2 separate regions of the Homo sapiens genome follow, and region 2 is linked to region 1. Evidence: promoter capture Hi-C in human tissues and cell types (Jung and others, 2019). All regions are on one chromosome and are shown on one strand. The core of a region is centred on a gene start or on the middle of the fragment in contact, and the rest is flanking DNA. Distances in the headings are between cores, read along the strand shown.

Evidence for each region. Contacts are between HindIII fragments. The study calls those that stand out against the background at their distance.
Region 2: a contact is called between a fragment that was not itself captured here and the fragment with the promoter of CASP14 in region 1, in 9 of the 25 tissues and cell types used here (aorta, bladder, dorsolateral prefrontal cortex and 6 more).

What each region holds. Positions count from the first base shown.
Region 1 is chr19:15,046,024-15,051,476 of GRCh38, forward strand. It overlaps CASP14 (caspase 14), which reads left to right and starts at 3,457. Exons shown (of 7, transcript NM_012114.3): 1 at 3,457-3,622. The HindIII fragment of the contact is 29,360 bases long and covers 1-5,453 here.
Region 2 is chr19:14,924,466-14,929,926 of GRCh38, forward strand. It overlaps the pseudogene OR7A15P. Among named protein-coding and RNA genes, the nearest start is that of OR7C2, 14 kb to the right of the region's middle. The HindIII fragment of the contact is 7,045 bases long and covers 1-4,840 here.

The DNA of each region.
Region 1 (5,453 bases), core at 2,207-4,706:
GCTCATGCCTGTAATCCCAGCACTTTGGGAGGCCAAGAGGGACAGATCACGAGGTCAGGAGTTCGAGACAGGCCTGACCAACATGGTGAAACCCCATCTCCACTAAAAATACAAAAATTGGCCAGGTGTGGTAGTGAGTGCCTGTAATCCCAGCAACTCGCGAGGCTGAGGCAGGAGAATGGCATGAACCCGGAAGGCAGAGGTTGCAGTGAGCCAAGATCACGCCACTGCACTCCAGCCTGGGTGACAGAGCGAGACTCCGTCTCAAAAAAAAAAAAAGAAAGAAAAAAAAAGAGTCGCGCACTTTTCTTCACATAGGTTATTCTCAATAGTTGTTTAAAGAACACAAAAAAATTGAGTTTGTTCCATATGTGCTAACATGGAAAGATGACCCAGACATAATTCGGTGAACAAGGCAAGTAACAGGACAATTTTGTAGAACGGGCCCACCTATGTAACTAACACTGCGAATGTGTGTAAGTCAATGCGGCAATAGGCACTGAAGGGAAATTGCTCAGTCTTGTGCCTGGGCTACCTGGAAGCAAAGGGAAGAATTGGAAGGATGAGAACAGGCCAGTTTTGCTAAAAAAAACATTTCTGTATTGCTAGAAAGTTGCACTACTAGGAATGGAATTAAAACATGCATCAGGCTAAGCGTGGTGGCTCACGCCTGTAATCCCAGCACTTTGGGAGGCCCAGGCAGGTGGATCGTTTTCAGCTCAGGAGTTTAACAACAGCTGGGCAACATGGCAAAACCCAGTTTCTACAAAAAACACACAAAAAATTAGCCTGGCATGGTGGTGCACGCCTGTAGTCCCAGCTACTGGGGAGGCTGCGGCTGGAGAATTGCTTGAGTCCGGGAAGCAGAGGTTGTAGTGAGTTGAGATCATACCATTGCACTCCAGCCTGGGCAACTTAGTGAGACCCTGTCTCAAAAAAAAATCCACATAAAACTTGTACATAAATATGTATAACAGCATCCTTCAAATAGCCAAAAGCCTAACACAACTGAAATGTTCCTCCACAGATGAATAAATAAACAAAATGAGGTATATCTGTACAATGGACTATTATTCAGTCAGAAAAAGGGATGAAGTTCTAATATATGCTACCATGTGGATGCTATCTTCCTCCTCCTTGAAATCTCATTGATTTATAGGATCTGGTCAGCTAAGAAGGCTGGATCTTAGGGGAAGGAATTGGAATGGGAGTGTCTGCAATGGTTTGCTGAAAGACATCTAACACTTGGCTCTCTAAAAACCAAAACAAAATGAAACAGGAGACAACAAACCAACATCCCTGCAATACTGTTCTTGAAAACATCATGCTGAATGAAAGAAGCCAGACACAAAAATCACATAGTGTATGATTCTATTTCTGTGAAATATCCAGAACAGGGAAACCTGCAGAGACAGAAACTCGGCTAGTGGTTGCCTAAGGCTGGGATGTATGGAGAGATTGGGAGTGATAGCTAAAGGGTACTGGGATTCTTTTGGGGGGTGATAAAAATGTTCTAAAATGAGCCAGGTGTGGTGGCCCGCGCCTGTAATCTCACACTTTGGGAGGCCGAGTGGGGAGGATCCCTTGAGGCCAGAAGTTCGAGACCAGCCTGGGCAACACAGCAAGACTTTGTCTCTACAAAAAATCTTGAGGAAAAAAGTAGCAAGGCATGTACGTGCACACCTGTAGTCCCAGCTGCCCAGGAGGCTGAGGTGGAAGGATCGAATAAGCCCAGGAGTTTTAAGCTGCAGTGAGCTGTGATCGCTCCACTGCACTCCAGCCTGGGTGACAGATCTTATCTCCGAAAAAAGAAAAAACAAAATGTTCCAAAATGAACTGACGCAATGGTTGCATCACTGTGAATATATTGAAACCCACTGGATTGCACACTTCAGGTGGGTGAATTGTATAATACGTAAATTATATCTCATTTAAGCTGTTGCTATCGAACCGAGTTTGTTCTTCCTCTGTGCAGCAAGCCAATCAATGTAATGACAGATTTTGCAGAAGAGGAAGAGTTCGTTCATGAGGCAATTAAGCGACGAGGTGGTAAAACAGGTCTCAAATTCTCCTCCCCAAAAATAGGGTTTGAGGGTGCTTATGGGATAGAAAACGGGGTGATCTAAAGTACGGAGAAAGGTGACTGGCAGGTAGGGAAGGTGAGGTAATCAGAATTTCTGAGCAAGCATGGTTGAGCTACATGGCTTTAGATAGGACATTTGTGCAAAAAATAGCATTTAGCATGATCTGAAGGTGGAGTTTACGGCCCTCTGATATCAGCTACCCACATAGGTGCAGTTGAAGGGTCAGTGATCTCCACTGGCTTAAACTAAACAAGAGCTGCCTCCTACCTAGTTCCTGAAAAACAACTTTAAGCACCCATTACTATAGTGTCCCACAGACAAAAATGTTATCTGTAAGGAAGCCAGTGGGAGTTTAGTTATGCATTATTTGGCTACGTGACTTGCTAGTGGCGCTTTTAAGATCAACTATAAGTAAGCAATTAAAAGTAAGTAAGCAATTAAACGCAAGGCAGATTAAGTCTGGAGGGCTTAATCAGGTTCGCCTTTGGTTTCACTATTAACATAAGAAATAAAATGAAACAAAATGGCTGAAAAATAATAAGAGGAGGAGGAAGAGAGGAATCATCATGATGCATCAGTTAAGGCAACTGGGCTGGAACATTTTAGGGGTTGTTTGTTTGTTTTTATATTTAAGACAGAGTCTTGCTCTGTCACCCAGGCTGGAGTGCAGAGGCACAATCTTAGCTCGCTGCAGCCTCAAACTCCTAGGCTCAAGCCAGCCTCCTACCTCAGCCTCCTGAGTAGCTAGGACTATAGGTATATGCCATCATTTTTATTATTATTATTATTTTAGTGACAGGGTCTCACTATGCCCCGGCTGGTCTCAAACTCCTCACCTCAAGCGATCCTCCTGCCTTGGCCTCCCAAAGCGCTGGGACTACAGACGTGACCCACCACACCTCACCCCTTATAGGGTTGAATGCCAACTGTGCCAATTGCTGACCTTGGGCAGTCATTTCACCTCTATGAGCCTCAGTTTCTCCATCTGCAAAATGGGAGCAAAAATACTGATCTGTCTAGACTCTTGAAGACTCGATGAGATAATAACTAAGTGAAGTCGGTGTTATCTACACAGTGGAAGGTGAGATGAATAAACTAGGCATAATGATGATGGTAATAACCAGATGGGCTGGCTATGGGATGGGGGTTGGGAGAGGTTGTGGCTGGGCTGGCACAGACATCTGACTCATTTAGACTCTCTGCCTAGGCCACCTTTGCCAGAGGGAGTCCCCTCAGCCTTGCGATCACTCATCCCATTGGCGTTGGCTCCATTTCCACACCACAGCTGTGTGCCAAGGGTGTGTCATGAGGTTTCTTGAGTGACAGAAAACTCACCGACAATAAAGGGCCAGGTGATTGTGCCACCCGATTCATAGACCAGGCTTCTCAGGAGAAACCCCGGGAGATTCCACACTGTCAGCCCCTTCTCCAAGATCAGTACGTGGGCCTGACTCCTCCTCGGTGCCCAGCTCAGTATTGGCAACTAGGAGAGTAGTGAGATTGAACTTGGCCTTGAGGAACAGCTGCCTCTAGAGTTGGTAAGTGATTTGGTGGATATTAGCCTCTCTCTCTCTCTCTCTCTCTCTCTCTCACACACACACACACACACACACACACACACACACGCACATACACACATACGCTCCCTCTCCCTTCATGAATTAATGCTCTGGCCAGTTTTGGCAGAATGGAAGAAATTTCCATCCATCCCCTCTTTCTTTTCATCTGTTCATTTTTTTCTTATTTGTTTACTCAGCAAATTCTCTCCAACACCACCTCTGTGCTCCCTGCCACACTGTTGGCCATGATGGAGACAGAGATAATGAAGTCAGGCTTTCAGTCCTGAAAACTGAGCTGCCAGTTCAGCCATGAGAGTAAGAATCAAAAACACTGCTGTAATTCAAGTAGGAGCAAGCAGAGCTGTGAGAGTCCAGAGAAGGAAGAGGAAAGTTCCAGGAGGTCAAGAGGGATCCTAAAACCTACCTGGGTCACCATTGCTGTTAAGCACCTAGAGCTCTCCCCAGGTCCTTTGCGGATGGGAAAATCGAGTCTCAGAGAGGAGAGTGAGATGCCGAAGGTCACACAGCTGGGAAGGGACTGAGGCAGGATTCGGTTCTGGCTCCAGGGCTATGCTCCTTCCACTTCCTCCCTCACAATCTTTGGCTCCTCTTTCGTCACAGCACTTGCTGTGTGTGTGTGTGAGTGTGTGTGTGTGAGAGAGAGAGAGAGAGAGAGAGATTTAATATTCATTTCTGTCACAGACTAGAGCTACAGAAGGACAGAAAGTCAGGGAGCATGTCTGTCTTACTTAATGGATTCTAAGTGCATAACACATAATAGATACCCAGAAAATATTTGCTGGGTAGGTGGGTGGGTGGGTGGATGGATTGATGGATGGATGGATGGATGGGTGGGTGGGTAGATGGATAAGTAAATAGGTGGATGGATAGATGGAAGATAGAGATGATGGATGAAGGAATGGATAGAAGGAGGGCTAGATGGAGGGATAGTTGGAAGATAGAATAGATGGAGGGATGGAAGACAGAGAGAGATAATGGATGAATGGATGGATGGATGGATGAATGAATGAGTGGTTGGATGAATAAGTGGATGGATAGATAGATGGATGGGTAGATAAATGGGTTGATGGAAGAATGAATGGGTATATGGGATGACTGATTAATAGATGGGTAGACAGACGGATGAATAGATGTGTGAGTGGGTGGATGGATGGATGGATGAGTGGATAGATAGGTAAGTGGAAAGATAAATTGGTGGATGGGTTGATGAATAAAAGGATGGATGTTAAATTGGATTGATGGATGACTAGATAGATGTGCGGGTGGAAGGATGGGTGGATGGGATGACTGATTAATAGATAAGTAGATGGACAGATGAATAGATGGAAGGGTGAGTGGGTGAATGGATGGATAGATGATGAATTAATGGATAGATGGTAGATGGATAGATGAATGAATTGATGGGTGACTGGATAGATAGATGGATAAAAACATAGATGAATGGATGGTTGATGGGGGAAGGCATAGCAGATATTATGCCACCAAAATTGTCAGAGAAGGATCTAGATAGAAAAAAAAAAAGCATTCCCGGTGGGGTGCAGTGGCTCACATCTATAATCCCAGCACTTTGGGAGGCTGAGGTGGGCAGATCATGAGGTCAGGAGATCAAGACCATCCTGGCTAACACAGTGAAATCCCGTCTCTACTAAAAATACAATAAAATTAGCCAGGCATGGTGGCGCATACCTGTAGTCCCAGCTACTCGGGAGGCTGAGGCAGGATCATCACTTGAACCCAGGAGGCAGAGGTTGCAGTGAGCCGAGATCATGCCACTGCACCCCAGACAGCC
Region 2 (5,461 bases), core at 68-2,567, 120 kb before region 1:
TTCCTCTCTAATATTAATGGTGTGACTGGAGGTGAGAACAGCTTGCTATAAACACAGTCCCAGGAGTCCTCATTCAGCTTCAAGTGTGTGCCTGTGTGTGTGTCTGTACTAATTGTGCATATGTGTGTCTGTCTTTAGTGGGGAGAGTGATTTCAAAATAACATCATTAAACAGAATTGAAAGGAGCCTTGCTAATTAACTGAAACAAGATATGAAGTAGCAATAATTTAATGTTTTCAACATGGATAAATAATTAAAGTTGCAAAGACCTAGGCATAAAAGAATATGACATACAAATGAGGTAGAGATATCCCTTTTAAGAGTAGAGGGACGCAGTGGCTCACGCCTGTAGTCCCAGTACTTTGGGAGGCCGAGGCAGGCAGATCACGAGGTCAGGAGATCGAGACCATCCCGGCTAACATGGTGAAACCCTGCCTCTACTAAAAATGCAAAAAAATTAGCCGGGCGTGGTGGCGGGCGCCTGTAGTCCCAGCTACTTGGGAGGCTGAGTCAGGAGAATGGTGTGAACCTGGGAGGCGGAAGTTGCAGTGAGCCGAGATCGCGCCACTGAACTCCAGCCTGGGCAACAGAGCGAGACTCCGTCTCAAAAAAAAAAAAAAAAAAAAAAAAAGTAAAGGGACCTGGACTCAATATATTCCAAAAGGTGACTCAGAATACAGAGGTCAGCACGCAAGGCAGCATATGGAAATAAACAAAGGATGCATTTCAATTCATGGGACATGGAGCCAATTTATTAAAGTGCAAATAGAAAACATCAGGACAAGCCTGGGCGTGGTGGCTCACGCCTGTAATCCCAGCACTTTGGGAGGCCGAGACAAAAGGATCACTTGAGGTCAGGAGTTTGAGACCAGCCTGGCCAACATGGTGAAGCCCCATCTCTACCAAAAAATATAAATCTTAGCAGGGCATGGTAGCAGGCACCTGTAGTCTCAGCTACTTGGGAGGCTGAGGCAGGAGAATCTCTTGAACCCAGGAGGTGGAGGTTGCAGTGAACCCACATCATGCCACTGCACTCCAGCCTGGCCGACAGAGTGAGACTCTGTCTCAAAACCAAACCAAACCAAACAAAATCTGGGCAGAGGGACTTCTTGTATTTTGAAGCTTCAGCAGCAATGAAGTCACCTCATAGTGCAACATCTTCTGACACCATCTCCCATCACTTACCTCTCACAGATTTCCCTGCCACACTGGCTTCCTCGTTGGCCTTGAACATCTGAAACCTTCCTCTACACCTTTGCACCGGCCATTCTTTCTGCTGGGCACACACATTCCCAGATATCCTCATGGCTCCCGCCCTGTCTTCCTTGAGGTCTCATTTCTCTTTTTAAAAATTTCAGCTTTTCTTACAGATTAAAGGGTACATGTGCAGGTTTGTTACACGGGTAAATTGTGTGATGCTGAGGCTTCGGGTCCTAACAATCCCATCACTCAGGAGGTAAGCATAGGACCCAACAGATGGTTCTTCAGCTCACATCCCCCTCCCTCCATCCTCTGTCCAGCGGTCTCCAGTGTCAATTGTTCCCATCTTTGTGTTCACGTATATTCGATGTTTAGCTACCATTTATAAGTGAGAACATGCGATATTTGGTTTTCTGTTCTTGCATTAGGTCGCTCAGAATAACGGCCTCTAGCTTCATCCATGTAGCTGGAAAGGACATGATTTCATTCTTTTTTATGGCTGCCTAGTATTCCATGGTGTATAAGTACCACAGTTTCTTTGTCCAATCCACTATTGATGGGCACCTATCACCTTGACTGCTAGTATTCTCTGGACACCTAGGAAAATTAACATCCTCTATCCACCCTCGCCTTTTTACCTTCTTTCTTTTTCTTGCTAGCCCTGGTTACCATCTGACACAGTATATGATTTACTTGTATTCTTCTCCATACTTCACTGTAGGAACTTTTGTTTTTCAGCACTGTTCACTCATTGTCTAGACAGAGCCTGGAACGTTGACAACACTCAATTTAAATTCCTCAAATCCATGAAAGAATTTATCATTAAAGTATTGGTTTTTGTTTTGTTTTGTTTTGTTTTGTTTGAGATGGAGTTTTGCTCTTGTAGCCCAGGCTGGATGGAGTGCAATGGCGCCATCTTGGCTCCCTGCAACCTCTGCCTCTCAGGTTCAAATGATTCTCCTGCCTCAACCTCCCGAGTAGCTGGGATTACGGGCACGCACCACCACATCCGGCTAACTTTGTATTTTTAGTAGAGATGGGTTTTCTCCATGTTGGTCAGGCTGGTCTTGAACTCCCGACCTCAGGTGACCCGCCCACCTCTGCCTCCCAAAGTGCTGGGATTACAGGTGTGAGCCACCGCACCCGGCAAAGTTTTTAAATAAATGACCATTTGGGGAAAAGTTGAGCATCATGGGAAAGGAATTCCTAAGCAGAGATGGGATGGGAGATCTCATAAAGTAGACCAGATTCACACACAAAATATAGAAATTAACTTGCTGACTGTAGGATATAAATAATAGCTTTTCTGATGGGTGAAAAAAGCATGCTTATGTCATGTATTTTCTCTCTCTCTCTTTTTTTTTTTTTTATAGTCACCTCTACCACATGGAACCAGAGAATGATACACGAATTTCAGAATTTCGACTTCTGGGATTTTCAGAAGAACCCAGACTGCAACGATTTCTCTTTGGTAAAAGGCAAAAGATTTATACAATTTGAAGAGAAACCAGAGCATAACGATTTCTCTTTGGAGTGTTCTTATCCATGTACCTCATCATTGTATTTGGAAACTTGCTTATCATCCTGGTTATCATTTTATGCTCCCACCTCCACACCTCCATGTACTTCTTTCTCTCCAACCTGTCCTTTGTAGACATCTGTTTTGCCTCCACCAGGGTCCCAAAGATGCTGGTGAATATCCAGGCACAGAGCAAAGTCATCACCTCTGCAGGCTGCATCACCCAGATGTACTTTTTCATACATTTTGTAGGATTGGACAGCTTCCTCCTGACTGTGATGGCCTATGACCGGTTTGTGGCCATCTGTCACCCCCTGTACTACACGGTCATCATGAACCCTCAACTCTGTGGATTGCTGGTTCTGGTATCCTGGATCACAAGTGTCTTGCATTCCTTATTACATAGCTTAATGGTGCTGCAGTTGTCCTTATGCAGAGAGTTGGAAATCCCCCACTTTTTCTGTGAACTTAATCAGGTCATCCACCTTGCCTGTTCTGACACCTTTCTTAATGACATGGTGATGTATCTGGCAGCTGTGCTGCTGGGTGGGGGGATGTCTCGCTGGGATCCTTTACTCTTACTCTAAGATAGTTTCCTCCATATGTGCAATCTCATCAGCTCAAGGGAAGTATAAGGCATTTTCCACCTGTCCGTCTCACCTCTCAGTTGTCTCCTTGTTTTACTGTACAAGCCTAGGAGTGTACCTTAGCTCGGCTGCATCCCACAACTCACACTCAGGTGCAATAGCCTCAGTGAGGTACACTGTGGTCACCCCCATGCTGAACCCCTTCATCTACAGCCTGAGGAATAAGGACATAAAGAGGGCTCTGAAGAATTCTTTGGGAGGGAAACTAGAAAAGGGCCAGTTGTCCTAGGGCTGAAGCTATATCCATGATTGCAAGGCTCAAAGCCTCAGAGCCAGATATTGCTGTTGTTTAATCAGATCATGGAAGTGGAAACTGCTCTTTTTTTTTTTTTTTTTTTTTTTTGAGACAGAGTTTTGCTCTGCTGCCCAGGCCAGAGTGCAGTGGCGCCATCTCCGCTCACTGCAAGCTCCACCTCCTGGGTTCATGCTATTCTGCTGCCTCAGCCTCCCGAGTAGCTGGGACTACAGGCACCCACCACCGCACCCGGCTAATTTCTTGTATTTTCAGTAGAGACGGGGTTTCACTATGTTAGCCAGGATGGTCTTGATCTCCTGACCTCGTGATCCAACCGCCTCTGCCTCCCAAAGTGCTGGGATTACAGGCGTGAGCCACTGCGCCGGGCTGGAAATTGCTCTATTTATTTCCTGAAGTTTCCATTTCTTTTATCTCAACTGCTTCATCAAATTTAAGCAACTCCTATTATTAAGCTTTCCTCTCTCTCTAATATTCAACAGATTTTCCCCTTGTTTTCCTCCTTTCTCAAAGTTATTCCCAACCTTGGGTCAGAAACAATTTGGAGATTCCCATTTGCCTCATAGGGTGATGAGTTGTACTATTCCTATGGAATAAACTACGCTTGGCACTGAGGCCATTTATGTAATTTTATTGGAGAAGAATTTCTGAGGCTATGGTTTTTCACTTTTTGTGTTTGTCATTCATTTCTGTATCACTACCTTAATTGATCTTCCTGATAATGTAGACTTAAACATACTAGGGTATTTTATAGCTGGTTATGGGATTTTTCACTCCCATTAGGATCCTGTTCTCTTCTTGAACTCAGTATTCATGAATTCTACTATATTTACTGGCACTGAGTACTTAGTCAAAAGTTGCTCATCAAATAAATGCTCCAAGCATAGTCTACACAGAAAGACAAACTGGCAAAAATCAATTGGCTTTACATGGACTTAGAGTTAGAGATGACGTTAAATATGATAGAGTAACATTTTCAATTATGTACTAAATTTCTATGGAAGGTTTGTTTTCAATGATGTACATCTACTCATTGAAGTGTGGAAGCTTGTTATTCATGTGTAATGAGGTTTGTTGATCTGAGTGAAAGATTTGGTGTCATGGTCTATATTATTTTATTGTATCATCTTGCTGTTTCTATTTGAAAATTCTAGTGTTACCTACAAATATGACTACTTACATTGTCCAAAAAATATTTCCCCCTTTAACAAATGTAATCATAACACAAAATACAGATGATTGAACAATATGTGTATTTACTTGATCATCAATTCCTTTACATCTTTTATAATCTAAATTCTTTTCAGTCCTCATGATCAAAGATTATTCTGTTGATATCTGGATATTTATATCTTTCCTGAAAGTTGGAAAGTTTTCAGTTATTTTTTTGATAAGCTTTCTGTCTCTTTGTTCATTCCTTCTCTTTCTTGATTCCTGTTAATTCAAATATTTACCCTCCTTATGCTGCCCCATAAAATCCCATAAGTTTTCTTCACTCCTTTTTATTCTGTTTTTCTCCTCTGAGTGTATGTTTTCTAATAATCTGTCTTCAAGTTCATAGATTATTTCTTCTGCTTTATTTCTTCTGCTTTATCAATCCTGCTGTTGACACTCTAGATTGCATTTTTCATTTCATTCATTGTATTTTTCATCTTGAGAATTTCTAGAGTTTTTTTATAATTTCAATCTCTCTGTTAAATTTCAAATTTTGTTCATTTATTGTCTTTCTGATTTTGGTGAATTGTTTCTCTGTATTTTCTTAAAGTTTGCTGCACTTCCTTAAAACAATTATTTTTGAATTCTTTGTCAGAAAGTTCATATATCTCCATTTCTTTCTTTTTA